Regions from separate parts of the Homo sapiens genome. Here regions 2, 3 and 4 are each linked to region 1. Evidence: promoter capture Hi-C in human tissues and cell types (Jung and others, 2019). All regions are on one chromosome and are shown on one strand. Each heading gives the region's core, a stretch centred on a gene start or on the middle of the fragment in contact. The rest is flanking DNA. Distances are from core to core; before and after follow the strand shown.

What was found. The method cuts DNA at HindIII sites, captures the fragments that hold promoters and counts their contacts. A contact is called where the count stands out against the background at its distance.
Region 2: a contact is called between a fragment that was not itself captured here and the fragment with the promoter of ABCD4 in region 1, in 1 of the 25 tissues and cell types used here (liver).
Region 3: a contact is called between a fragment that was not itself captured here and the fragment with the promoter of ABCD4 in region 1, in 1 of the 25 tissues and cell types used here (neural progenitor cells).
Region 4: a fragment that was not itself captured here is called in contact with the fragment with the promoter of ABCD4 in region 1 in 1 of the 25 tissues and cell types used here (liver).

Annotation. Positions count from the first base shown.
Region 1 is chr14:74,299,578-74,306,954 of GRCh38, reverse strand. ABCD4 (ATP binding cassette subfamily D member 4) reads left to right here and starts at 4,021. Exons shown (of 19, transcript NM_005050.4): 1 at 4,021-4,080; 2 at 6,687-6,805; 3 at 7,280-7,377. The coding sequence starts at 4,043. It also overlaps a transcript of VRTN not described here and the pseudogene SUB1P2. RefSeq lists an enhancer at 3,573-3,932 and a silencer at 4,193-4,272. The HindIII fragment of the contact is 36,493 bases long and covers 1-6,588 here.
Region 2 is chr14:73,063,100-73,069,722 of GRCh38, reverse strand. All of the region lies in intron 1 of RBM25 (RNA binding motif protein 25), which reads right to left. It also overlaps the pseudogene LOC100422493. Among named protein-coding and RNA genes, the nearest start is that of RBM25-AS1, 7.0 kb to the right of the region's middle. RefSeq lists enhancers at 3,774-4,274, 4,275-4,775. The HindIII fragment of the contact is 8,376 bases long and covers 309-6,623 here.
Region 3 is chr14:73,003,008-73,010,335 of GRCh38, reverse strand. All of the region lies in intron 2 of ZFYVE1 (zinc finger FYVE-type containing 1), which reads left to right. Among named protein-coding and RNA genes, the nearest start is that of ZFYVE1, 20 kb to the left of the region's middle. The HindIII fragment of the contact is 3,507 bases long and covers 2,725-6,231 here.
Region 4 is chr14:75,492,657-75,499,350 of GRCh38, reverse strand. No RefSeq gene overlaps it. Among named protein-coding and RNA genes, the nearest start is that of BATF, 26 kb to the left of the region's middle. RefSeq lists an enhancer at 2,161-2,220. The HindIII fragment of the contact is 3,218 bases long and covers 2,136-5,353 here.

The DNA.
Region 1 (7,377 bases), core at 2,772-5,271:
TATTTAGAAAACAAAAGCCAATGTAAAAAGACAGATTAAAACAACTAGAGGCCAGGAGCGGTGGCTCCGCCCTGTAATCCTAACACTTTGGGAGGCTGAGGCAGAAGCATCGCTTGAGCTCAGGAGTTCTAGACCAGCCTGGGCAATATAGTGAGACCTCATCTCTATTTAAAAAAAAAAAAAAACTTAAAAATTAGCTAGGCATGTTGGCGCATACCTGTAGCCCCAGCTACTCAGGAGATTGAGGTGGGAGGAGTTGGAGACTGCAGTGAGCTGTGATTATTATCCCACTGCACTCTACCTGGACCACAGAGCAAGAACCTGTCAAAAAAAAAAAAAAAAACCACACATACACAGACACACACACACACACACACACAAACCAACTACACTAGAACAGTATAGGTTTTATATGGCTTGAATTTCACAGTTTTCTTAACTGCATCATCAGTATCAGAAATCTGTTCTTGGCCAGGTGCAGTGGCTCACATCTGTAATCCTAGCACTTAGGGAGGCAAAGGTGGAGGATCACTTGAGCCTAGGAATTTAAGACTAGCCTGGACAACACAGTGAGACACCTCCCCCCAACCCCTGCCTTCTCTACAAAAAAAATTTTTTTTAATTAGCTGTGTGTGATGCCAGCACCTACAGTCCCAGCTACTAAGGAGGCTGAGGTGGATCACTTGAGCCCAGGAGATGGAGGCTGCGGTCAGCTGTGATCCCACCACTGCACTCCAGCATGGGCAACAGAGCAAGACTCTGTCTCAAAAAAAAAAAAAAAATATATATATATATATATATATATATATGTATATTTTTACATATATATATTTTACATATATATTTTTACATATATTATATATATATAATCTTTAAATTTAAATTTTAAAAAATCTGTTCCTTCAGCTGGCTTCTTTGCTCCAAATTCAAAGAAATACCTTCTCTTCCTGGTTTCATTTCACCTTCTGGATCCATCCAATATTATTTAATATCAATTACCCTTTAAAATCCCAAACACTGGCCCGGCTTGGTGGCTCACACTTGTAATCCTAGTACTTTGGGAGGCCAAGGTGGGCAGATCACTTGAGGTCAGGAGTTCAAGACCAGCCTGGCCAACATGGTGAAACCCTGTCTCGACATAAAAGACAGAACTTAGCCAGGCATGGTGGCGAGTGCCTGCAGTCTCAGCTACTCAGGAGGCTGAGGCAGGAGAATTGCTTGAACCTGGGAGGCAGAGGTTGCAGTGAGCCAAGATCGTGCCATTGCGCTCCAGCCTTGGGGGACAAGTCTAAAAAAAAATCCCAAACACTAATGTACCTCATTTTCCTAACCTGAAACATCATGTTATCATCTGTGCTGCTGCTGCTGTTCTCTTTGGAAGATGATAGAGCTCTTCAAGTTTCACCAGTCTTTTGCTTCTTTACAGGTCTTTCTGGAGCAACCTGCTTTTTCCTCTTTAACTTTTTGTCAACATCACTGTCAGAACCGCTGCCAGAAGAGCTTGAAGAAGTAAGTTCCTTTGATTTGGGCATTACTCTGCTCTGCTGCACTCCAGTAGCCTCCCGCTTGCTCACTGGTAACTCTGGTGTATTACTTCTTCTTCTTCTTTTTTTTTTTTTTTTTTGAAACAGTCTCACTCTTGTCACCCAGGCTGGAGTACAATGGCACAATCTCAGTTCAATGCAACCTCCGCCTCCTGGGTTCAAGTAATTCTCCTGCCTCAGCCTCCCAAGTAGCTGGGATTACATGCACCCGCCACCACACCTGGCTAATTTTTGTACTTTTAGTAAAGACGGGATTTTGTCATGTTGGCCAGGCTGGTCTTGAACTCCTGACCTCAGGTGATTTGCCTGCTTCGGCCTCCAAAAGCGCTGGGATTACAGGCGTGAGCCACCGTGCCCAGCCTGCTACTTCTTAAAAGTTTACAGTAATAGACAATGCTGAGGCACCCTGGGACAGTAATGCCACCGAATACCAAACTAGGACATTTTTGAGACTGAAAGGGGACAAGATCTGTAAACCTAGATTACCCTAGAGAGGTGACGTTGCTTGCTTTAATACTTTGGTTGCCTTATTAATTTTTCAAAAATTGCATCCTATTTTTTTGGTTTTCAAAATAAGAAAGACATACTTGAATAAAGTTATTTCCTCTTCAAAGTCTTTCTAGATTCCACTTTTCCCCATGCTGAGTTAAATGCCTTTCTCTTTGGTTCTGGGGCAGTGGTTCTCAATGCTAGGGGGTGGGGTAAAGCTGGAATTTTGGTCCTTTCTCCCCTAAGGGACATTTGGCAATGTTTAGAGACATTTTGGGATGCCTAGGTCAGAAGGAATGCCACCGGCATCTAGTGCGTAGAGGCCTGGGATACAGCTAAACATCCTACATTGCATAGGAAAGCCTACACAGCAAAGAATGATCAGGCCCCAAAACTTAATGGCGCCAAAGTTGAGAACCCCTGCTGTATGGTATGTTTGTCATAGCACTTCATAAAGACAGCTGTAGGCCGGGCACGGTGATTCACACCTGTAATCCCAGCATTTTGAGAGGCCAAGGTGGGTGGATCACCTGAGGTCGGGAGTTCGAGACCAGCCTGACCAACATGGAGAAACCACGTCTCTACTAAAAATACAAAATTAGCCGGGTATAGTGGTGCATGCCTGTAATCCCAGCTACTCGGGAGGCTGAGGCAGGAGAATCGCTTGAACCCGGGAGGCACAGGTTGCAGTGAGCCAAGATAGCACCATTGCACTCCAGCCTGAGCCACAAGAGCGAAACTCCGTCTAAAACAAAAACAAAAACAAAAAAAGGCCAGGAGCGGTGGCTCACTCTTGTAATCCCAACACTTTGGAAAGCCAAGGCGGGCAGATCACCTGAGGTTAGGAGTTCAAGACCAGCCTGACCAATATGGAGAAACCCTGTCTCTACTAAAAATACTAAATTAGCTGGGCGTGGTGGCACATGCCTGTAATCCTAGCTACTCGGGAGGCTGAGGCAGGAGGATGGCTTCAATCCGGGAGGCTGAGGTTGCCGTGAGCCGATATCGCGCCATTGCACTCTAGCCGGGGCAACAAAAGCAACACTCCGTATCAAAAAAAAAAAAAAAAAAAAAAAAATCTGTAATTGTCAACTGATTGACCTACCCAGCTAGACTGCAACTTTCATAAAGACAAGTGATACATGCATGTTGTAGAGTGTTTGGCTTGCAGTTGAAACTTAATAAGGATTGGAGGAAAGTGAGAAGACACATCCAGATTCAAATTTAGGGACCTGTGGGATCATGCTGTTTGGGTTTTTTTTGAGCCATTTCCCACCTCCCTTTGGGTACTAATCAGTCAACTGATAAGCATTTCATTCATTCAACTATCTATCTTATCTATCGATCATTATCATCTATTTATTTGTTTTTGAGACAGGGTCTCTCTTTGTCGCCCAGGCTGGAGTGCAGTGGCACAGTCACGGCTCACTGCAGCCTTGACCTTCCGGGCCCAAGTGATTCTCCTGCCTCAGCCTCCAGAGTAGCTCGGACCACAGGCGCTCGCCACCATCCCCGGCTAATGCTTTTGTCTTTTGTAAAGGCGGGGTCTTGCCATGTTGCCCAGGCTGGTCTTGAATTCCTGGGCTCAAGCGATCCTCCCGCCTTGGCCTTCCAAAGTGCTGGGATTACAGGAGTAACCCACCGGGCCCGGCTGGAAGCCTAATTTATACTTTTTTAAAGATCATGCTGGCTTCTCTGGGAGAATATGTAAAACATCTATTATACACAGAATCTAAAATACTTGCCATAAAGTAGTTACACTCTCGGATACCTATTGTCAAAAGGGAAGTCTCCCAGAAAATATGGGGGCGCTGTAGCCGCCGGGTCAGCCGAGTCCACTCTCTGGTACTTTTAGAGACGTCGGTCGCTTCCGGGAGAGTCCGCGTCTCCCGCACCTTCCTCTCTATCAAACGCCGTCTCTGTGGTAGCCGGGGCCCCGCCCCTCCTCGGACTCTACCCAGTACTGAACTAGGGGCAGCTGGGCTCCAGAGTCCCTCGGGTCTCAGGTCATGGCGGTCGCGGGGCCCGCGCCCGGAGCTGGCGCCAGGTAAGCAGGGCGGTCGGGGAGGAGGTTTGGGAGCAGGAGTTCCGGGCTGTAGGGAATGGGCTTTCCTGCCCTCCGTGCCTCGTCCGCCGCCCTGGCGCCCCCGTCTCGCCCCCGTGACTTCTGAGAGAAAGAGGAGCTCTCGAAGGGGCGTCCGCCCTCCCGCCGCTCTAGGCCGCTCCGCACCGGCCGCGGCCCCCTCCGTTCTTGGCCGGACTTGTGCCATCTCCTGCGGTGTGGGACCCTCACCCTCGCAACTGGCATTCTTTTTTTGAAAAGAAGAACCTCAGGTGCACAAAATTGAGTTGATCCTTCTCAGTTCTTGACACCCTGTGGGCCAATGCAAGGCTCCTTGTTTATTTTATCACTTCCTCTCTTCGTTCCTATTCCCAGACCCCTTTCACTCCCCTTTTCAGACAGCCACTCTGGTGTGTTATATAAGTGGCTTTACGGTCCACCTTGGGTAAATTTGTGCAAGTGTTACTTTGAAATCTATATAGCGGTTTCGAATTCTTCAATATAATATGCTGTGATTTTTCTTTAAACCTTTTTCCTCAACATTGTGTTTTTGAGTCCATCCATGCTAGTCATCTTGTTTTCACTTCTGAGTGCTTGCATGAGGGGTGCTGTGTGCATAGACTTATTCCCCTAGTGGTGGATAGATTTTTTTCTAGTATTAACACCCCCACAAGCCACACTGTAACGAATATTCTGGCAGTTGTCTCCTTGTGCATATTGTTGCATTTCTCTGGGTATCCACCCCAGAGTTGGGTCCTGGTCATATCTAATTTTGCTGGATTGTTCTTTGGAATGGTCACACTAGTTTATACTTCCCGACGGGCAGTGCATAAAGCTTCCTGTTTCCCGGTATCCCTCCATCGTTCAGTGGCGGCTGGTTTTGTAATGTTTATCAGTCTGGGGGGTGTAAGGTGGTATCCCATCGTGTACATTTTCTTTCTTTCTTTCTTTCTTTCTTTTGAGACGGAGTTTTGCTCTTGTTGCTCGGGCAGGAATGCAGTGGCATGATCTCGGCTCACTGCAACCTCCGCCTCGGGTTCAAGCGATTCTTCTGCCTCAGCCTCCTGAGTAGCTGGGATTACAGACGCGCGCCACCACACCCAGCTAATTTTTTGTATTTTTAGCAAAGATGGGGGGGTTGGCCAGTCTGGTCTTGAACTCCTGACCTCAGGTGATCCACCCGCCTCGGCCTCCCGAAGTGCAGGGATTACACTTCCCGACGGGCAGTGCATAAAGGAATTACAGACGTGAGCCACTGCTCCCGGCCTACATTTTCATGTGTTTATTAAACGTGGGTTTTCCCTTTTTTGAATTGCCTGTTTATATCCCTTCCCACTTCTCTGTGGATTTCCTATGTTCCTGGCTTGCAGGAATTCTTGTAGGCTCTAGATTTAGATCCTGGCCATGCCCGGTGGCTCACACCTGTCATCCTATCACTTTGGGAGGCTGAGGTAGGTGGACCACTGGAGTCCAGGAGTTCAAGATCAGCCTGGGCAACATGGTGAAACCCCATCTCTACCAAAAATACAAAAATTAGCTGAGCGTGTTGACGCACGCCCGTACTCCCAGCCACTAAAAAGGCTGAGGTGGGACAGTCGCTTGAACCCGGGAGGCAGAGGTTGCCCTGAGCTGAGATCGCACCACTGCATTCCAGCCTGGGCAACAGAGCAAGACCTTGTCTCAAAAAAAAAAAAAAAAAGATTTTAGGCCAGGCGCGGTGGCTCACGCCTGTAATCCCAGCACTTTGGGAGGCCGAGGCAGGTGGATCACCGGAGGTCAGGAGTTCGAGACCAGCCTGACCAATATGATGAAACCCCGTCTCCTACTAAAAATACAAAAATTAGCCGGGCGTGGTGGCATGCACCTGTAATTGCAGCTTGTCAGGAGGCTGACACAGGAGAATCACTTGAACCAGGGAGGCGGAGGTTGCAGTGATCCGAGATTGCGCCGTTGCATTCCAGCCTGGGCAACGAGCAAAACTCCGTCTCAAAAAAATAAAGATTTCAAGTCCTTGTTGGTTTTGCACTCTGCAGATACCACCTCCAAGTCTTCTAACTTAATCTATGGCACTGTGTTGAATAAAAACATTTAACTCTAATGAAGTTAAATTCATCAGTTTTCCCCTGTATAGGTTTTTAAGGTATCTTCATTAAGACATTTTTCTACATTTCCTTCTATTAACATGATAGTGTTACTTTTCACGTTTAGATTTTTAATCCATTTGTAATTTTTTAAGTTTTTTGTTTTTGGTTTTTTTTTTTTTTTTGAGACGGAGTTTTGCTCTTGTTGCCCAGGCTCTTGTTGCAATGGCGCAATCTCAGCTCACTGCAACCTCTGCCTCCCAGGTCCAAGCAATTCTCCTGACTCAGCCTCCCGAGTAGCTGGGATTACAGGCATGAGCCACCACGCTTGGCCAAAGAATTTCCTTTGTATCCGTGGTCTGTTCCCAGCCTACCATCTTCAGCATTTGAAAACCATTCTTTCTGCATGGCCTGGACCCTCTACAGAACAATGTGGATGAGCTTAATAACTACTCCCTAAGGCTTAATTATTGTCTTGGGCTTTTCTCTGCCTCCCCACCTTCTCTTCAGGCCCAGGTTAGATCTGCAATTTCTCCAGCGGTTCCTGCAGATACTGAAGGTTTTGTTTCCTTCTTGGTCATCACAAAATGCCTTGATGTTCCTGACCCTTTTGTGCCTGACCCTACTGGGTGAGTGAGTGAGCCCAGACTAGAGGAGGGAGGGGAGCTCTGGTTTGGGGTCCCTTTCCATCTTTTTTTTTTTTTTTTTTTTTTTTGAGACAGAGTTTCTCTCTTGTTGCCCAGGCTGGAGTGCAGTGACATAATCTCAGCTCACTGCAACCTCTGCCTCCCTGGTTCAAGTGATTCTCCTGCCTTCGCCTCCTGAGTAGCTGGGATTACAAGCACCCACCACCACGCCCGACTAAACTTTGTATTTTTCAGTAAAGACAGGGTTTCACCATCTTGGCCAGGCTGATCTCGAACTCATGACCTCAGGTGATACACCCGCCTCAGCCTCCCAAAGTGCTGGGATTACAGGCGTGAGCCACCGCGCCCGGCCCCTTTTCATCTCTTTGGGGTGCTGATGAGGCAGGGACTCAGGAAGAAGCCTCCCTTCTTTTTAACCCCTCATCACTGATTTCTTACTCCTCTCCCTCCTTTCAGAGCAATTTGTGATCTACCAGGTTGGCTTGATCCCCAGTCAGTACTATGGGGTCCTGGGAAACAAAGACTTGGAAGGGTTTAAGACTCTGACATTCCTG
Region 2 (6,623 bases), core at 3,247-5,746, 1.2 Mb after region 1:
GTGGCTCATGCCTGTAATCCCAACACTTTTGGGAGGCCGAGGCGGACACATGACCTGAGGTTGGGAGTTCAGGACCAGTCTAGCTAACATGGAGAAACCCCATCTCCACTAAAAATACAAAATTAGCTGGGCATGGTGGTGCATGCCTGTAATCCCAGCTACATGGGAGGCTTAGGCAGGAGAATCGCTTGAACCAGGGAGGTGGAGATTGTAGTGTGCCATTGCACTCCAGCCTGGACAACAAGAGCAAAATTCCATCTCAAAAAACAAACAAAAATATTTGTCTCTACTATTTTGTCTTTCATGTTTTACAGAAACATAAAAAGAGAAAACATAAAAAGTTTAAGTCTTCCACTTCCTTGCCCCCAATCCCAACAGTTTGGTATCTACTGCTGTGCTCTTCTTAATATCATTCTATGAACTAATAATTTTTATTTTTCTACAACCAATCACATCATGTGAATTTCTCCCTCGTTATAATTGCCATCTCTTCATGTCAGTTCACAAAAGTTTTATTCCAAGCCGGGATGGTGGCTCACGTCTGCAATCCCAACACTTTGGGAGGCCAAAGCAGGGGGCTCACGTGAGGTCAAGAGTTCTAGACCAGCCTGGCCAACATGGTGAAACCCCATCTCTACTAAAAATACATAAATCAGCCAAGTGTGGTAGCACATGTCTGTAATCCCAGCTACTCGGGAGGCTGAGGCAAGAGAATCACTTGAACCCAGGGTGCGGAGTTTGCACTGAGCTGAGATCGTGCCACTACACTCCAGCCTGGGTGACAGAGTCTGTCTAAAAAAATAAAAAATAAAAATAAAGTCTTATTCCACCTTTATAATGCAGTAAATTGGCTGGGCGTGGTGGCTCACGCTCATAATCCCAGCACTTTGGGAGGCCGAGGTGGGTGGATCACAAGGTCAAGAGATTGAGACCATCCTGGCCAGCATGGTGAAACCCCATCTCTACTAAAAATACAAAAATTAGGAGAGGGGGTGGCTGCAGTAATGAGAGGCTGGTGCTGCAGCTCTTTTCCTGCAGTCCAGCCAAGGAAGCGTGCGTCCCTGGCGCTTCCTTCTCTTTGGACAGAGAGCTTGGGATGTGGTAATGCCAGCCAGACTTCTCAGAGCCATGGTCAGATCTACCGTACACTGGCAAAAGCACATCAGTGCCAAAGAATTGGTCATCTAATGTTAAAACCACTAAAGGAATTTGAAAATACAACATGCGGCACACTGACAATACGTCAAAACTTGGATTTGTTCCTTCCTGATAATACAGCTGGTAGTCTGAATAAGTCTCAGATCCTGTAAATGAACCAAAAAAAAAAAAAAAAAATCAAATACAAGCATTGTCTCTCCATTAAATGCTGCTCACTGCCAAGACGAAAAGGCACACCTTCCAACCATGAAATCCTTTGGTACTCACAAGAGAGTGACCCACAAACCAAATCTATTGGGGTCTAAATGGTTTATAAAAATATTAAAGAGGCATTTCTCATCTGTATCAATGGAAACATTTGTTCCAAAACAAGGCTTTCCACATATCAAGAGACCACTAAAGCATCCAGGACCAAGCAGCCATCTAGGACCAACCTTCCAGTTCTGTCTGTGAACGAGGTAAAGTTGGGGTGGTCGTAGCTCATGTGCTTAGTGATCACTGCTCACGCTAAACCAGTGTGCGCTGCACCCCAGCCTTACCGCCAACTTAAGAAACTGGCAGTCAACTCAGACTGCTCCATCAAGATCTTTGAAGCCTAATAAATATCCAAAGAGATTCAAAATCTTAATTTTTAAGAATTAATGATACATATAAAAACAAAATACAGGCCGGGCGCGGTGGCTCACACCTGTAATCCCAGCACTTTGGGAGGCCGAAGCGGGTGGATCACGAGGTCAGGACATCGAGACCACGGTGAAACCCCGTCTCTACTAAAAATACAAAAAAAAAAAAAATTAGCTGGGTGCGGTGGCAGGCGCCTGTAGTCCCAGCTACTAGGGAGGCTGAGGCAGGAGAATGGCGTGAACCTGGGAGGCGGAGCTTGCAGTGAGCCAAGATCGCGCCACTGCACTCCAGCCTGGGCAACAGAGCGAGACTCTGTTTCAAAAAAAAAAAAAAAAATACAGGCAATAAAACATGAAAAAAATACAAAAATTATCCAGGCGTGGTGGCACATGCCTGTAGTCCCAGCTCTTGGGAGGCTAAGGCAGGAGAATTGCTTGAACCCGGGAGGTGGAGGCTGCAGTGACCCGAGATCAAGCCACTGCACTCCAGCCTGGTGACAGAGCAAGACTGCCTCAAAAATAATAAAATAATAATAATGCAGTAAATTATTATAATACGGACATATTTATTTAACCAACATTAACAGTTGGCTCCACTTTCAGCTCTCACAAATAATGTTGAACATTCCTGGAGATAATAGACATATAACTGTATGCATCTGTACAGGTAATTCTCTAATACAGGTTAGAACTATATGTATCTGATTAGCTGGGTGTGATGGCAGGTGCCTGTAGTCCCAGCTACTCAGGAGGCTGAGGCAGGAGAATCGCTTGAACCTGGGAGGCGGAGGTTGCAGTGAGCCGAGACGGTGCCATTGCACGTCAGCCTGGGCGACAGAGCAAGAATCCACATCAAAAAAAAAAAAAAAAAAAATTATATGTATCCAAACTTTACCTCCAAAATCATCCCTGAAAACTAGCATATAAATGTATATTCCCACCACCAGAATATGGGTATGCCCTTTCCTCATATCCTCATCATTGGTAGAATAGATCAGTGTCAAAATTCTCACAATTTCATAAGTAAAATATACTCTTATTTCAATTTACATTTCCCTCATGACTAATGAGGTTGAGTATGCGTTTACCTGTTTACTAGACATTTCTTTAAAACAGAAAAGCATGACCTACATGCTCACAGCTCTACTTCCTCAGAATTCCTTTGACTTAAATTGGGATAATACCATATTCAATAAAACTAAACTTCAATTTCAGAAAACACAGTATACTTAAAATATTTAGAAAACTTTATAGGTAAAGGAATCCCTAGGATGCATTTTTTTTTTTTTTTTTTTGAGATGGAGTCTTGCTCTGTCACCCAGGAGTGCAGAGGCACCATCTCAGCTCACTGAAACCTCCGCCTGTCGGGTTCAAGCGATTCTCCTGCCTCAGCCTCCCAAGTAGCTAGGATTACAGGTGCACACCACAAGGCACGCACGACCAAGCTCAGCTAATTTTTGTATTTTTAGTAGAGACGGGGTTTCACCATGTATGGCCAGGCTGGTCTCAAACTCCTGGCCTCAAGTGATCCGTCGGCCTCGGCCTCCCAAAGTGCTGGGATTACAGGTATAAGCCACTGCGCCCAGCCCTTAGGAGGATTTAATATACTTGGCAAATGAGGTATTAGAAATGTTTTAAACAGTAGGTAGGTTATCAGTACATATTAACAATGAAAAACACAAGATTGCAAGACTGTAAATGTGTTGAGTTTTAAAATAAACTTTCTGTAAAACTTTTTGACCAAAACCAAAAACTGGGGGTGGTATCTCTTTTTAAAACAGAAAGGGCTACTGTCCTACTTACAGAAGCTCTTCTATTATCATTATAATAGCCTATCTCAGTGCTTTCTTAGGATAGTTGGTTTTCATACCTGTTGAATAAACTGATTAATGAATAAATCAGTAAACAAACTCTGAGGACTTCAATAAACAAATTTATTATGCTATCTCATGCCGCATACTATATTCTAGCAATGGCCCAGTGCCTAGCCTCACAATGGTTACAAGACTGGGCCATGAACTCATTTTTAAAACCACTTTTCCCCCAATAATATTAGATATAAATAATGCTTAAAAACTAAAACTCTCGGTCAGGGGCGGTGGCTCACACCTGTAATCCCAGCACTTTGGGAGGCCAAGGCGGGCAGATCACTGGAGGTCAGGAGTTCGAGACCAGCCTGGCCAAAATGGTGAAACCCCTGTCTCCACTAAAAATATAAACACTGGGCTGGGTGAGGTGGCTCATGCCTGTAATCCCAGCACTTTGGGAGGCCAAGGCAGGCAGATCACAAGGTCAGGAGATCAAGACCATCCTGGCCAACACGGCGAAACCCCGTATCTAATACAAAAAGTTATCCAGGCATGGTAGTGTGCGCCTGTAGTCCCAGCTACTCAGGAGGCTGAGGCAGGGGAATTGCTTGAACCTGGGTGGCAGGGGTTGCAGTGAGCCAAGACTGCGCCACTGCACTCCACCTTGGCGACAGAGCAAGACTCAGTTTCAAAAAAAAAAAAAATTAGCTGGGCACAGTGGCTCACCCCTGTAATCCCAGCACTTTGGGAGGCCGAGGCAGACCGATCACTTGAGGTCAGGAGTTGGAGACCAGCCCGGCCAACATGGTGAAACCCCGTCTCTACTAAAATACAAAAACTAGCTGGGTGTGGTGGCGGGTGCCTGTAATCCCAGCTACTCAAGAGGCAAAGGCAGGAGATCACTTGAACTCGGGAGGCCGAGGTTGCAGTGAGCCGAGATCGCGCCACTGCACTCTAGCCTGGGTGACACAGTGAGACTCTGTCTCAAAAGAAAACAAACAAACAAACAAACAAAATTAGCCAGGTGTGGTGGTGCGCACCTGTAATCCCAGCTACTCTGGAAGGTGAGGCAGGAGAATTGCTTGAACCTGGGAGGCAGATGTTGCAGTGAGCCGAGGTCGCGCCACTGCACTCCAACCTGAACGACAGAGTAAGACTCCGTCTAAAAAAAAAAAAAAAGTAAAACTCTATATTCTTGGTATTTAAGTTATATTTTATGGTTTTTAAATGTGTAATTCATTCTGCAGAGTTAACCAGATATATTTAATTTTCGTTTATGCCAATATACCCATTCCATTCACTTCAAATTTTTCCATAACATATTCCCCTTTATTTGGAGCTGCCAAAACTTGCTTGTTGATAGGCTGGACTTCAAAGGTGAAGGCAAAAATACCAGTTAACAGCTAATTTTTATGGATATTCCTTTAAGATAACTGGCCTCTCCTGGGCGCGGTGGCTCACATCTGTAATCCCAGCACTTTGGGAGGCTGAGGCGGGCGGATCACAAGGTCAGGAGTTCGAGGCCAGACTGGCCAACATGGTGAAAGCCCGTCTCTATTAAAAATACAAAAATTAGCCAGGAATGGTGGTAGGCGCCCGTAGTCCCAGCTACTCGGGAGACTGAGGCAGGAGAATTGCTTAAACCTGGGAGGCAGAGGTTGCAGTGAGCTGGGACCGCGCCACTGCACTCCAACCTGGGTGACAGAGCGAGACTCCATTTCAAAACAAAAATAAAAAAGATTGGTCTCTCATGGAAAATCAGAAAACATTTCTCATCTTTGATAAATACTAATGTCCACTTTAAGCAGCCTAAAAGATTACCAACTACTTATTTCAACACAGGTTTATGTGTTTTGCCATGTGAAACTGATTGAGAATTAACTTTCATAATCATAAGCAAAGCTTATCTGTTACCTATAGATGATAAACAAAATAAATTATAATACATTGAAAGATGGTATGTACTTTGTAGAAAAATAAATTAGGGAAGAGAGCTATGGAGTAGTTTATTTTAAATACAGCGATTAGGCCTCACCAAGAAGGTGAAGATTAGAACAAAGATTTAAAAGAGGCAGAGGCAGGAAGCCCTATTCATATCTGGGGGAAAGAGACTTCCAAGCAAAGGAAAAGACAAATACAAAGAGGCTGAAGCAGGAATGGTGTATTTGAGGGAGGAATAGCAAGGCCAACAGTATGACTGGAGCAGAATAAATGAAGAAAATCAGAAATAAATACTGAGTATTATGAGTAGAGTGTAGGGCTATGTAACACAATGTAAATAAACATTTTAGTTTTAACTCTGAATGAGGTGAAAATCATTTGAAGAGTTTCTGACTTGTCACATTTTAACAGTATCACTGGCCACTGTGTTAAGCCTGGAAGGGAACAGGATACAAGCAAGAGACTGGTACAATAATCCATATAAGAGATGGTAGCCTGGAGAGATGGTGGCCTGGAACAGGTGGTAGTGGTGAAAGTGCTATCAAGTTGTTGGATCCTGGATATATTTTGAAGGCAGCCAATAGGATTTGCTGAGGGATTGTATAATATGTGGGATTTAAAAGAGAGAAATGCAGAGTTATCTTATGGCACTGAAATCATTTCCATAGCATTTTTTAAAATATTGAAAGTACCTCACATTTTAGAAGGTTCAAAGCACCTTTTCCTGCTAAGTATGAAACTCCGGGCCGGGCGCGGTGGCTCAAGCCTGTAATCCCAGCACTTTGGGAGGCCGAGGTGGGTGGATCACGAAGTCAGGAGATCGAGACCATCCTGGCTAACACAGTGAAATCTCGTCTCTACTAAAAATACAAAAATTTAGCCGGGCATAGTGGCAGGCGCCTGTAGTCCCAGCTACTCGGGAGGCTGAGGCAGGAGAATGGCGTGAACCCGGGAGGCGGAGCTTGCAGTGAGCAGAGATTGTGCCACTGCACTCCAGCCTGGGCGACAGAGCCAGACTCCATCTCAAAAAAAAGAAACTCTATAGCCCACGATAATAAAAACAGGAACCTGGGCCAGGTGCAGTGGCTCATAC
Region 3 (7,328 bases), core at 3,229-5,728, 1.3 Mb after region 1:
GCCACTGCACCTGGCCAATTTTTTGTATTTTTAGTAGAGACAGGGTTTCACCATGATGGCCAGCCTAGTCTCAAACTCCTGACCTCAGGTGATCCTCCCACCTCTGGCCTCCAAAAGTTCTGGGATTACAGGTGTGACCCACTGTGCCAGCCTAGGTTTCTTTTTAATTCAAAAGATACATCCTTTTGAGGGAAGGAGTGTTAAGTATTGAATAAGGATCCTGCTTGTTCAATTATCCCTATTTCTCTGTTTTTTTTGAGACATGTTGCTCTGTTGCCTAGGCTGGAGTGCAGTGGCACCATCATAACTCAAGCAATCCTCCCACATCAGCCTCCCAGGTAGCTGGAACTACAGGCATGTACCACCATGCCCAGCTAACTGATTGATTTTTGTAGAGATGAGGTCTCATGATATTGCCCAGGCTGGTCTCTAATTCCTGGACTCAAGTAGTGCTCCGGTCTCAGCCTCCCGAACTGCTGGGATTAAAGGCATGAGCCACTATGCTCGGCCTATCCTTATTCCCTTAATGAAGCATTTATTGGAAACCTTCCCAAAGGAGAGTTTTGTTTTGTTTCGTTTTGAGATGGAGTCTCACTCTGTTGCCCAGGCAGGAGTGCAGTGGTGCAATCTCCATTCACTGCAACCTCTGCTTCCTGGGTTCAAGTGATTCTCCTGCCTCAGCCTCCTGAGTAGCTGGGATTACAGGCACGTGCCACCACGCCCACCTAATTTTTGTATTTTTAGTCGAGATGGGGGTTTCACCATGTTGGTCAGGCTGGTCTCGAACTCCTGACCTTGTGATCCTCCCGCCTCGGCCTCCCATAGTGCTGAGATTACAGGCGTGAGCCTCCGCGCCCAGCCTCCCTAAGGAGAGCTTTTACTTGGGATAATGAAATTTCCAGCTGATGGTGATGACTCTGGCTTGGGGCAAAGCAGCAATGATGTCAGTCAGCATGCCTCTAGCATTTACTACAAGTTATTCTGGGCCTCCACTGTGCTAAGTGCCTGATGTACATCATCTTATTTAATTTTTGCAGAAATCCTATGAAGTAGATTGTGTTGTTATCTTCATTTTAGAGGTGAATAACAGAGCCCCAGAGGGGTTGAATAAAGTTATCCTAAAGTCAGTGGATGATAGAGTGAGGTTGGTTGAACCTTTAATGGTGATACTATACCATTCCCTCCCCCAGAGGATATAGCGTCTAGACATTTTGTGCTGTGTTCATTCATTTATTGATCAATTGTGTCTTGATTTCCTATTTTGCGTCAGGCACTGTGCTAAGGTTACGGTAGTGAACAACACAGACCATATCTCTGCCAGCCTGGAGTACATTCTAGTTGGGGTGTTTAGCGCTGGAAGAGTGGGAAAATGTTAACAGAGGTGGTGGGTGGGAATGGAGGCTTTGAGCAAGAGAAGGGTTGAGTCAGTTGCCCAGGGTATGATTTAAACCTAACTCTCTTTTCTAGCCTGGTTTGTGTAGCTTAGCTTTTACTGTTAAGTCCTTTCTTAGCCCTCAGAATCATTCCAGAATGAAAGACCATTCTGCTTACTGACAGGCCTTTACTGGAGCTTACATCTGTTTTCACAGCTGGCCAAATATGGATATGCTATGCCACTTAAAAAGGCAGCTGCATCTCCCATCCAGAAGCTCCTCAGAAAGTTCCCTTGAGGATGAGGTGGGGCTTGGGGATGACTCGGTATTTCCAGTGTGTCCTCAGAATTCATCTTTGCCTTGGAAAGCTTTTTATTCAGATATAAATGGATTGCTGAACTGGGTGTGTTGGATGTGGTCAAAGAAACTGATCAGGGAGCTAAAAATGACTTTTTTTAAAAAAAGAATTTTTGTGGACCATCTCTGCATAGAAACACTTTTATTAGGCCAGGCATGGTGGCTTACGCCTGTAATCCCAGCACTTTGGGAGGCTGAGACGGACGGATCACTGAGGTCAGGAGTTCGAGACCAGCCTGACCAACATGGAGAAACCCCGTCTCTACTAAAAATACAAAATTAGCTGGGTGTGGTGGCACATGCCTGTAATCCCAGCTACTTAGGAAGCTGAGGCAGGAGAATCACTTGCACCCGGGAGGCAGAGGTTGCGGTGAGCCGAGATCGTGCCATTGCACTCCAGCCTGGGCAACAAGAGTGAAACTCCGTCTCACACACAAAAAAATAAAAAAAGAAACACTTTTATTTCTGCTAGGATAGGAGAGGAGCTGCAGGCAGTCTCTGTGAAGCATAGTGTCAGAAGCACCACTGGTAGTTATAAGACATGGAGAGGAATTCCTGACCTCTCAAGTAATGGAACACTTTGGGGACACTAGAGTGGAAGAAAGTGATCTTTGCCCCTGCCAAATGTGCTCAGTGTGTTTGTGAGACCAACCCCGTGACTTCAGTGTCTTCAGAAAACATTTGATTGAGAAATGATTGTGTTTTTATGTGAAACTCTAGCAACATGTACGTGGATAGACATGAGGTATACATACCCTTTAGGATAGAATGAAAAGAAATTTTCTAAACTTGCTGTGTTGAGGAAACAGATTTAATAGAACTTAAACCTTGCTATTGGAAGAAATCTAATCATTTGGACTTTAAAATAGACTGGTTACTGATCTGTTTGACATAGTTTAGGTAAAATCCTGTTTGAAATTTAGGCCATGGGGTTGGGCTCAGTGGCTCACACCTATAATCCCAAGTGCTTTGGGAGGCCAAGGAAGGAGTATTGCCTGAGGCCAGGAGTTCAAGACCAGCCTGGGCAACATAGAGAGACCCTGTCTCTACAAAAAATAAGTTTAGCCAGCTATGGTGGTGCACGCCAGTAGTCCTCCTAGCTACCTAGGAGGCTGAGGCAGGAGATTGATTGAGCCTGAGAGGTGGAGGCTGCAGTGAATCACTGTATTCCAACCTGGGCAACAGAGCAAGACCTGTCTTTAGAAAAAAAAAATTGGAGTAATGTATGATTGTAGTTGGTACAGATTAAATCTGTTTTTCCCAGGGGCCAGTACTGAAAAGACCTTGGTGCCAAACTACTTTTCTTAAGAGTGTTTTCCAGGTTTGTTGGGGTTTAACTTCTAGAATCTCTGACTGTGCTGTGTTGAACTTCCTTCCTTCCAAGGCTCTTTAGTTCCTTCCTCACCTCTTGGTTTCCCTTTTCAGGCCTCCTTGGAACAGAGCCGGTACATGGTCTTTCATTCTAGAATGATTCTGTGAGGGCTTGGAAGGAATCTCTCGAGGGAGAACATCATCATTCCCTTGGCCTGCTTGGGTCGCAGGTTGATGCTGGACACTTTTCACTACCATGAACTATTCTGAATTCTAAATTGGGGCTGGGCGCAGTGGCTTATCCCTGTAATCCCAGCACTTTGAGAGGCTAAGGCAGGCAGATCACCTGAGATCAGGGAGTTCGAGACCAGCTGGACAACATAAACCCTGTCTCTACTAAAAATACAAAAAATTACCTAGGTATGGTGGCACGTGTCTGTAGTCCCAGCTACTCAGGAGGCTGAGGCAGGATAATCGCTTGAACCAGGGAAGCAGAGGTTGCAGTAACCCAAGATTGCGGCACTGCACTCCAGCCTGGGCGACAGAGTTAGACTCTGTCTCAAAAAAAAAAAAAAAAAAAAAAAAGGAACTGGGGTGGGGGATCATTGAGTACAGTTATATTTCATTTTACAGACTCTTCTTGGGAGTCTATACAAAGTAAAAAGCTTTGGGTGAATTGGAGGGAGAGAGGGAGGTGCTGCTGGGTTTTGTAAAGGTTTTTAGACAGAGTCTTACTCTGTTGGCCAGGCTGGAGAGCAGTGGTGCAATCTCGGCTCACTGCAACCTACACCTCCTGGGTTCAAGTGATTCTCCCGCCTTAGCCTCCCGAGTAGCTGGGATTACAGGCATGTGCCACCACACCCAGCTAATTTTTATATTTTTAGTGGAGATGGGGTTTCACCACGTTGGCCAGGCTGGTCTCGAACTCCCTGCTTCAAGTGATCAACCTTCCTAGGCCTCCCAAAGTGCTGGGATTACAGGCGTGAGCCACCACGCCCAGCCTCGTAAAGATTAGTACAATATTAGATAGTTACTAAGAGCCAGCTCTAAAGCCAGTATGAATAATAATGTGTTTTGGCCGGGCGCGGTGGCTCACGCCTACAATCCCAGGACTTTGGGAGGCCCAGGCGGGCGGATCACGAGGTCAGGAGATTGAGACCATCCTGGCTAACACGGTGAAACCCCGTCTCCACTAAAAATACAAAAAATTCTCCGGGCGTGGTGGCGGGCCTGTAGTCCCAGCTACTCCAAAGGCTGAGGCAGGAGAATGGCCTGAACCGGGGAGGCGGAACTTGCAGTGAGCTGAGATCGTGCCACTGCACTCCAGCCTGGGCGACAGAGTGAGACTCCGTCTCATAAAAAAAAAAAAAATGTGTTTTGATTAGCAGGAGGTGGTTATCTGATGCAAGCAGTGAGCTCTTTCATTTTAGGTAGAATTCATTTAGATCTTACTACATTGCTGAATCAGCCCCCAAATGAGCAATTCACAGGTGCAAGCCCAGCTGCTGCTGCTGTGCACCTGGGTGTTTTCCCAGTGGACTGGTCTTTAATAATGGTTCACGTATCGAGTGCTTACTCCATGCCAGGCACTGTGCTATGCCTTTTACATACTTTATCTCTTTTAGTCCGCTGAGTGTCGCTAGGAGCTGGACATCTGTTATTATCTCATTTCCCTGAGGTGTTGAGTAGTTAAGTAACTTTCCCAAGGCCACACCATGGTTTCAAAGCCTGTAGTGGCATTCAGGTGTTTTGGACTCGCCTGAGGCCTAGCAAGCTTGGGGAAGATGGAAGGCAAAAGTTGGGGAGGGGTGGCTTTGGTATCCCTCCTGCGTTTGCTGTTGGTAAGGCCAGTGACCATTTCAAACATGTTGTCAACTTGGATGGGGTGGCCAGTTGGCCGAGCTCAGGGCCAGGTAACCTATTTAACTCCAGGATTGGAGCACCATGGGGTCACTGAGTGTAGACAAGCCGAACAAGTAGAGCTGGAGCTTCGTTCCTTCCTGGGCCCTTCCTTCCCTCATCAAAGGGAATCTTCTTATTTTTCTCTGCCTTTCCCTCCCTGACTGAAAACCGGTCTTGCTACCACCTAGGCTAGGCTGTTCTCTCCTTTCTGGCTTAGGGAAAAATACTCATGTGTTAAGGATGAATTTAGTAGTATATCAGGAAGCAAAGTAACATGAAAGGCAGAGAACTGTGCCAGAGAAGTGTGGTTTCAGTGTGCCAGCATTTTCCTGCGTATCTGTTTATTTGGTTAATTAGCACCTGCAAAGATGGTTATAGCCTCCTTTTTTTTTTTTTTTTGAGACGGGGTCTCACTGTCACCCAGGCTGGAGTACAGTGGCGTGATCTCGGCTCACTGCAAACTCTCCCCAGGCTCAAGCAATTCTCCCACCTCAGCCTCCTGAGTAGTTGAGATTACAGGGACGTGCCGCAACGCCTGGCCAATTTTTTGTATTTTTAGTAGAGATAGGGTTTTGCTAGGTTGCCAAGGCTGGTCTCAAACCCCTGGGCTCAAGTGATCCATCTGCTTTGGCCTCCCACAGTGCTGGGATTACAGGTGTGAGCCACTGCACCTGGCCTAGCCTCCTTTCACATGACGAAAATGCAGTCGGTGCACGTTAAGGGATTGTTCACTGCTTGTCAGTAGAAAAAACAGCCTGGAGCTTTGAGTTCCTCCTCCCAGGAGTATTATTTGCACTGGACTCATCTATAGGCCCAACACATGGACATCCACATTGGACATACCCCCGAATACCAAATGGCTAAGTGGTATCACCAAATGCAGGCAAGGAGTGTTTTCTTTCCATCCCATATGAGTTATATATATATATATAGTACATCATTTGGTGGACACTTAATATGAATCCCGAGACATTCAATTCTGTACCTAAATGTTCCCCCGTCCCCACTTTCAGGTGCCTGCTCTTAGATACTCAGGATAGCAGTGGCTGTTTTGTTTGTAAAGAGTCGCGACAGAGTAGATTTCCATGGGGAGAAAATCCCTAGGCCTGGTCTTCCATACCAGGCCTGGTGGAGCAGGTGGATGGCTCTTCCAGCAGCCACCCTGAGCTCACCTGACTCCGTGCCGGTAGAGCTTTACGGAGCTTTTGTTTTGTTTCTCTTGCTGGCCGACTTAGCAGCTTGGAACCAGGCTGGCTGAGTGACACGGGTCCAAAATGGGCTATTCTGTGTAACTTCTTGTTTCTCTCCGTTGTCTGCTAGATCGGTTAGCCCATCACCAAGTTTATGAAATGCTGCTGTGTGTTCAGCCCTGTGGAAGATGTATGATGGGAGAAGCGTTTAAGGTACCTGGGTACCTAACAAGGTGCCTGGCGTTTATTCACTCACTCATTCACTCAGCAGCTGTACACTGAGCTCCTCCTGTGTGCCAGGCGGTGTCCTGAGTGCTCTGCATGTAAAGATAAGGTAGACACGGCCCTGCCCTCATGGCTGTAGTGAAGGGCACTGTCACTGCAGCCGGCATTCAGTGAACTGTTAGTATTATCAGGAATATTCAGGCTCTTAATAATGAAACAATAGTGATGTCATTAATATAATAATGAGTGGTTTACTTTTTTTTTTTTCCAGTTAGAGTCTTGCTCTGTTGCCCAGGCTGGAGTGCAGTGGCACGATCTCGGCCCACTGCAACCTCCACCTCTTGGGCTCAAGTGATTCTCCTGTCCCAGCCTCCTGAGTAGCTAGGACTATAGGCGTGAACCACTACGCCCAGCTAATTTTTTGATTTTGTAGAGTTGGGGTCTTGCTATGTTGCTTAAGGTAGTCTTGAATTCCAGGGCTCAAGCGATCCTCCCGTCTTGGCCTCCCAAAGCACGGGGATTTGGTTTACTATCTTGATGAGATTATAGGAAACAAAGGTTTATCATATTTTCACACTGAGTGGTCTGTATATTTCTCTGTTATCAAACCAGCAGACTCTTGAGAATCAGCAAGGTGTTCACCTCTATAGTCCCAGCACTTTGGGAGGTGGAGAGGCAGATCACCTGAAGTCAGGAGTTTGAGACCAGCCTGGCAAACATGGCGAAATCCCATCTCTACTAAAAGTACAAAAAAAATTAGCTGGGTGTGGTGACATGTGCCTGTAGTACCAGCTACTCTGGAGGCTGAGGCAGGAGAATGGCTTGAATCCAGAAGGCGGAGGTTGCAGTGAGCTGAGATTGTGCCCCTGGACTCCAGCCTGGGTGACAGAGTGAGATCCTGTCTCAAAAAAAAAAAAAAAAAAGAAAAGAAAAAAAGGGCTGGGCACGGTGGTCACACCTGTAATCCCAG
Region 4 (6,694 bases), core at 2,495-4,994, 1.2 Mb before region 1:
CATAAAGTCCAGGTTCCAGTTGACTTAAAAAAAAAAAAAGAAAAGCACACGGTCATGGTGGTGTGCACATCCAGAAATTCAGACTGCGGGTCACCAGGCCCAGGGGCTTCTAGATGTTTAGTCTAAGGCAACAGAGTCTGGGCCTGCTACTGAGGTTTCTTGCTCTGAATCACCCAGCACAGAGGCAACCAGCAGTGGCTTTGACAACCCAAGCCACAGTTACACATCTCGCTGATTCTGAGGAAAGGGATGGTCCTCAAACTCTCTGGGGGCTCCCAACCTCATTTATAGAGCAGTTCTCTTGTATGTACAGTGGGTTGTAGAGCCTATTTCAGAATTTCTATGTCTACTTATTTTTATCCAAAAGTAATAAGAAAGAAATTAAGCTATGATCATATTTAATAATTAGTATAAGAGCAAACATCTATTTTGTAAATAAATATTTGTATACTGTCTTGTAAGCAATTATACATATGGTTTGTTTTTTTTTTTGAGATGGAGTCTCACTCTGTTGTCCAGGCTGGAGTGCAGCAGTGCCATCTCGGCTTACTGCAACCTCTGCCTCCTGGGTACAAGCGATTCTCCTGCCTCAGCTTCCCGAGTAGCTGGGATTACCGATGCGCACCACCATGCCCAGCTAATTTTTGTATTTTTAGTAGAGATGGGGTTTCACTATGTTGGCCAGGCTGGTCTTGAACTCCTGACCTCAAGTGATCTGCCTGCCTCAGCCTCCCAAAGTGCTGGGATAACAGGTGTGAGCCACTGCAGCCAGCCCTGTATTTATATTATATACAGACATGTACAAATATTTTTGCATGCTAAAAAATTTAACAGGGGGTGGGGTGGGCTAAGGCAGTGTGTCCCAGGCCATGGGTCCCTGTGCAAAATAATTTCTAATGAAATTTATAAATTAAAAAAATTCTTTTAATTTAACAGATGGAATGGATAATCCAGGAGGATTGGAGATGGCAGCTCTGCAGGACAAAGCCCCCACTCCCTCATGTGGTCCCTCTTCTTTCTGGTAAGCTTTCCAGCCAGAAGCTGGAGACGTTCCACTCTTCGCTGCTCTGGCCACTGGTCCAGGACCCCCACCATTGTCTTTCTCAGCTCTGCTCGTCTACTCTTTTTTTTTTTTTTTTTTTTTTTTTTTGAGGTGGAGTCTCGCTCTGTCACCGAGGCTGGAGTGCAGTGGCGCGAACTTGGCTCACTGCAAGCTCCACCTCCCGGGTTCACTCTATTCTCCTGCCTCAGCCTCCTGAGTAGCTGGGACTACAGGCACCTGCTACCACGCCCGGCTAATTTTTTGTGTTTTTAGTATAGACGGGGTTTCACTGTGTTAACCAGGATGGTCTCGATCTCCCAACCTCGTGGTCCGCCCACCTCGGCCTCCCAAAGTACTCTTCTATTCTTGCTGCTTCCTCTGGGTTTTCTCCTACCCCTTTGGCCTAGCCAACTCCTAGTTGTTCCTTAGGCCTGCACTCAGTTGCCATCCCCAGTGGGAAACGTTCTCTGATGCACCAGGATGGAGGTTCTTGGGAGCCCTTCACTGCCTGTGCATTCCCTTAGCATGGCGTTTTCATCTCATTGCCGCGCTATCCACAGGTCCATCTCACTCACTAGCTGTAGATAAGATCATCTTAGTCCCTCTGCTCCTCAGTACCCATTACAATGCCTGCAGGTGAAGTTACCAAGGAGGCCTCTTCTCTTCCATTCATGGTGCCAGGAAGACCACTGATTAAAACCCGTTGCAGAAAAGAAGGAGCATCTTCTCCAGACTCCCATTCCTTCCAGAGCATAGGTCAAATTGTGACTGCCAGGCCAAGAGTCTCTCTTCAAGAAAGAGAAGAAAGTTCCCCTTCAACAACACTCCCCCTACACCCCCTCAGGACTGTGGTTCCTCCAGCACGAAGTCTAACCAAGGACTTCCCCTGGTGGCTCTGTCAGAGCCCAGGCTGAGCGAGCTCCTTCTGCAGAAACTCGATAACATCAGAATATGGTGAGGTTCCAGGCAGCAGACCGTCCTTCTGCTGTGACTGGAAAAGAGGCCTTCAAAAGAGCTGAAGGCCTCCTCTGGGCAGGGACCTCCAGAGGCCCAGGGTGGCTGGCTTCTCAGGGTTTCTCATCACTGCAGCTCCCCTGCTTCTGCTCATCTCCCTCCATTTCCGCACAGGCCTTCCCCACGTGTCTGAGGATGGACACCCCCCAGCTCCTCGAGCCAATATTGCCTCAGTCCAAGCCATCAGAGGAGTCTGAGAAGCCCCTCAAAGTCAAAATTCCAAACTGGGAGAGGGACTCTCATGAGTCTACTTTGAGTCAAGAGTCTACTCCTGGGCCCCTCAGTCACTCATTGGGGGTCTTACAAACATGGCTGCCAGAGCCCACTCTTACAGAGGGCGCTGGACAGCTCCCACAGACAGGGGCTGAGGGGACTGTAGTTGAGAGCACGCTCTCAAAAGTGTCATCTGTAGGAAGTAAAGAAGGAAGCAGAAAAATAGAAGCTGAGTTTCTATTCAGGGCCCGATGCTTTGGCAAATGTCTTAAAAATAAGGAGTTTCACTCCCTGGAGAAGAGGGTTAGGGTTTTGTGTCCACCTCATGCCAGGAACTCTGCAATAGGGCAGAAGGTGGGAGACCTACTTACCTTGAAGGAGCTAACAATCCCTTGGGAATGTCACAAAGGAAACTAAAGTGGCATTAGAAAGCCTGGCCCCTCCTTCGAGCCCACCCACACCCCATCCCTCAAGGCCTAGATCACGTTCCTCCTCCTCCTCCTCTGTGAAGCCTTTTCTCACCACTCCAGCTTTGGTGTTGAGAGGGACATGATGTGGTGTGGCAGAGAGAACCAGGGACTGAGAATCCATCACTAGGGACCTGGTTCTGGCTTTGCCACTAACTAGCTGTGTGACCCTGAAGATGCCGTTGGTCCAGCCTCAGTGGCCTCATCTGTAGGCTGAGGATGCTTGATCTACTCTAGGGAAGCCTTTAGGGAGGCTTAAAACTTTAAGAGTCTATGAAAAATGTTATCTCCAACTCCTTAGAACTTCTTCAGAATGAAAAGTCGGGGCAACATGATTCCTTTCCTAATTTCCAATGGTCTTATCGTGGTTCAAAGTGAAAATGCAACACGGCAGATTGGTTAGGAGCATGGGCTCTCAAAAGGTGACTTATCCATGCTCTGCAGTATCTTCTCATTGGCAGAATGTTCTAGAGTGGACTGTCTGGCTGCTTCCTGTGGTATTATAAGCTTTGCAAAAGCAGAAGACCTCCCACCTCCCGTGGTTTTGCACATTTGGAAGCTTGCCAGCTCTGGACAACCCAAATGACATCTATGTTTTCCTACCTACATTTGGGATCTTGACCGGCATTCTGGAACAAATTCTACCACTCCGGAAAATTTAAGCTTTCAGCTTCTTTTGCTGTTACCCATATGGTTGCCAAACTTGAAATTATGGTGTTGGCTAAATTCCCATCAATAATATCAGGTGACCCCTAGGGTTGTTGTGGGACTGGAAGTCGGCCAATTTCTATTACCTTAATGTATGAAGAGAAATGAACAGAGGTCCTAAGTGTTTTCAAATAGCTTGATAATTTATAGAAGAAGAAAAGAGAAAGAAGAAGAGGTAGAGGAAGAGGAGGAAGAGGGAGGGGAAAAAAGAAAAAGGAGAAGGGGAAAAGGGTGAGGGGAGGAGGTAATGAGGAAGAAAATGGCACTGAAATTTGACACAAAGAAAATAAACTAATTTTGAAACTCTCGGAACTACAACCTCACGCAGTTGGGTCTTTGTATAAGGATGATGTTGCTACTTTCTGTAGACAAAATCTCAAGGTGTCAAATGTCAAATGTCAGCAGTTGGAAGGACCTTGAAACTCAGAAACTCTATGAAAGGATATCCTTTCACATTGAGATTTTAGCTATCTCTTATGTTCATCTACGCAGAGACTTCATTTAAAATTCTGTTAAATGAAATCAACAGTTTTATGATACTTCCCTCCTCCAAAAAGGATGGGGGAAGCTAGAATCAGACGACTGAATTGAATCACAGCTCCACCCCTTGCAAACCATGTGCCTTTAGGCAAATTATTTAATCTTTCCGCATCTTAATTTTCTCACCTGAAAAATGAAGATATTACCAGTATATGTATCATGGAGCTGTTTGGAGGATTCCATGAATTTACAGCTTGGGTGCACTTGGTTAATGGCAGCCTCTGCCATCATTAATATGGCCATATCCTGTGATTCAGAATGTGACTCAGAGGCAAAGAGGTCTCACATCATGTGACAAGTCTTTGGGGCAAATGTCCGGTGACATCGCCAATTTCCTTCCCAAAGCCAAGAATCACTTAGCTCCATGACCGCCATGTTCACAGACTTCATTTCACTGGCCAGAGAATGGAAGCTCAGCAAAACCACACATGCCCCGGTGGCCCATGCTCCAGCTCAGCCTTTTAGCTATGCAGAGATGCACCACTTAATATTCCCCAACACCACCCCTTCTCTGCAGCATGGTAGAGGAAGGGTCCAGCACTTTGATTCACCTGTGCGAACATCTAAAGGTCGCTTCTCCCATGACACACAATGAGAGGACAACTGAGCTGAGATTCCCAGGGACCCTTTGGGCATCATGGGGATGGGAAGATGGGGTGTTGGAATCTCCCCATCTTTCAAGAAAGGTGACATCAGCATGGCCTGCTACCATGCACTCAGGCCAGAAAAGGTCTCAGCTGACCATCCTGGCTAACACGGTGAAACCCCGTCTCTACTAAAAATACAAAAAATTAGCCAGGCATGGTGGCGGGCACCTGTAGTCTCAGCTACTTGGGAGGCTGAAGCAGGAGAATGGCGTGAACCCGGGAGATGGAGCTTGCGGTGAGCCGAGATCACGCTACTGCACTCCAGCCTGGGGGACAGAGTGAGACTTTGTCTCAAAAAAAAAAAAAAAAAAAGAAAGAAAGAAAAGAAAAGAAAAGGTCTCAGCTATAATGAGACCACCTTGCCCCATCCCCACCCCCAAAATGACCACATGGACAGGGGCTGGCTCCCCTAGTTGTGGAATAATAGGGCACATGTACATCTGCTGATGCAAACCTTTAATGGATAATCATATAAGATATTTCACTATAACCAGGCTTCTTTTAAAGTTAGTACAATAGTTCCAACTTTCTTTATCACAATAATATAAAGAGTTGAAAAATTCTAATCATTCATTGAGCACCTATTATATGCCAGGCCCCATGCCAAGTGCTTTACAATCAGAATCTCATTTGAGGCTCACTCCACTGTGTGAGGCGGGTATTATGAGGGTCTCATCTTACAGATGAGGAAACTGAAACTCGCCCAATATCACACCACGTTAGGAAAGAAAAAAAAAGTTAATACCATAAGTGTAGTTGATTTATGATTCAACTATGAAGACTGGGATGGAAGGAAGCCCAGAAAAATGGAAACAGTTCATCTGATGGGGTGATAAGATTATCGGGGATGTTTTTCCCCTTGGTAAATATTTCTGTTGTTTTTGTACATTGATGCATTATACTACAGGGTAGAGAAGTTGGTTTCAAGCAGGGCTTTGCAGCCTCAGAGTGACATAGCGGAAAGTCTATGAGAAGCGGGGGGTCACGGACTGTCAACCTGGTGATAAATGTCCTAGGAGAAGACAAGCACCCTCCCCAGTCCCCCTCCCCACTCTCCATCCCCGCCTCCTCCCAGCCCACCTCCCAGCACACTCCCAGGCTCTTAGTGAATTGCTGGGTGTGCAGGGAGAGTTTGGGGGAAACCCCTTCTCCAGCTCAGGTTGACTTTGTAAAACTCACACAAATTTGCTCCTTTGGAACCTAGAGTGTTTTTTTTTTCCTTCTTCTTCTTCTCTTTTATGAATCAGCACAGAATTGGCCTGTGTGGGGGCCAGAGAAGTTTCTAGAATATAAATCTCGCTGAGGCCTGGTGCACCTCAGCCTACAGATACCTCCGTCCTCCCTCAGATTCCCTGCCTCATTAGGGGCACAGGCCAGGCTTACTTCAGCCCAGGCCCCAAGCTGCACCTTACCCTCCCTTTCTCCAGGGGCGCGAGCCCAGAGACAAGACTCCCACTCTCCCATTCCAAAGTCAATCTGTAGGGTCCCTGTAATCAACATGCATAAAGAGGGGAGAGGTCCCTGGGAGAAACGGTGGCTCCCCTCCCCTAAACTCAGCTACCCCCAGAACATGATGAGATGACACATGCCCTAGACTCCTCTCCACAAAGAGCCCCAAGTCAGGTGCCCCCACAGGTGCCATCCCTCTTTCCTCCCTCTCCCCGCAGGCTTAGCGACCCTCCCCACCGCCAAGCTGCTAATGAGAGCAGCAGACTGATTCACTTGTCCTCCTTCAAGTCCACCTGATGTAATATGTTGCCCCTCTGAGGGCATTTTCAGATCATCTGGGTCCCATGATCTTATTTCATAGATGAGTCAATGGAGGCTCAGAGCCATGAAGTGACTTGCCAAGATCGCCAGCCAGGAGGTGCCAGGCTGGGATTTCTTGCCCTACCACCATGCTGTACCATCCCCTTGTCTTGTTAAATGAGGTTTCTCATACACAGTATGTAAGGACTATGGTTTTGTTCATGAACACTACCTTCATCTTTCTTTCTTTCTTTTTTTTTGAGACAGAGTCTCACTCTGTCACCCAAGCTGAAGTGCAGTGGTGCAATCACAGC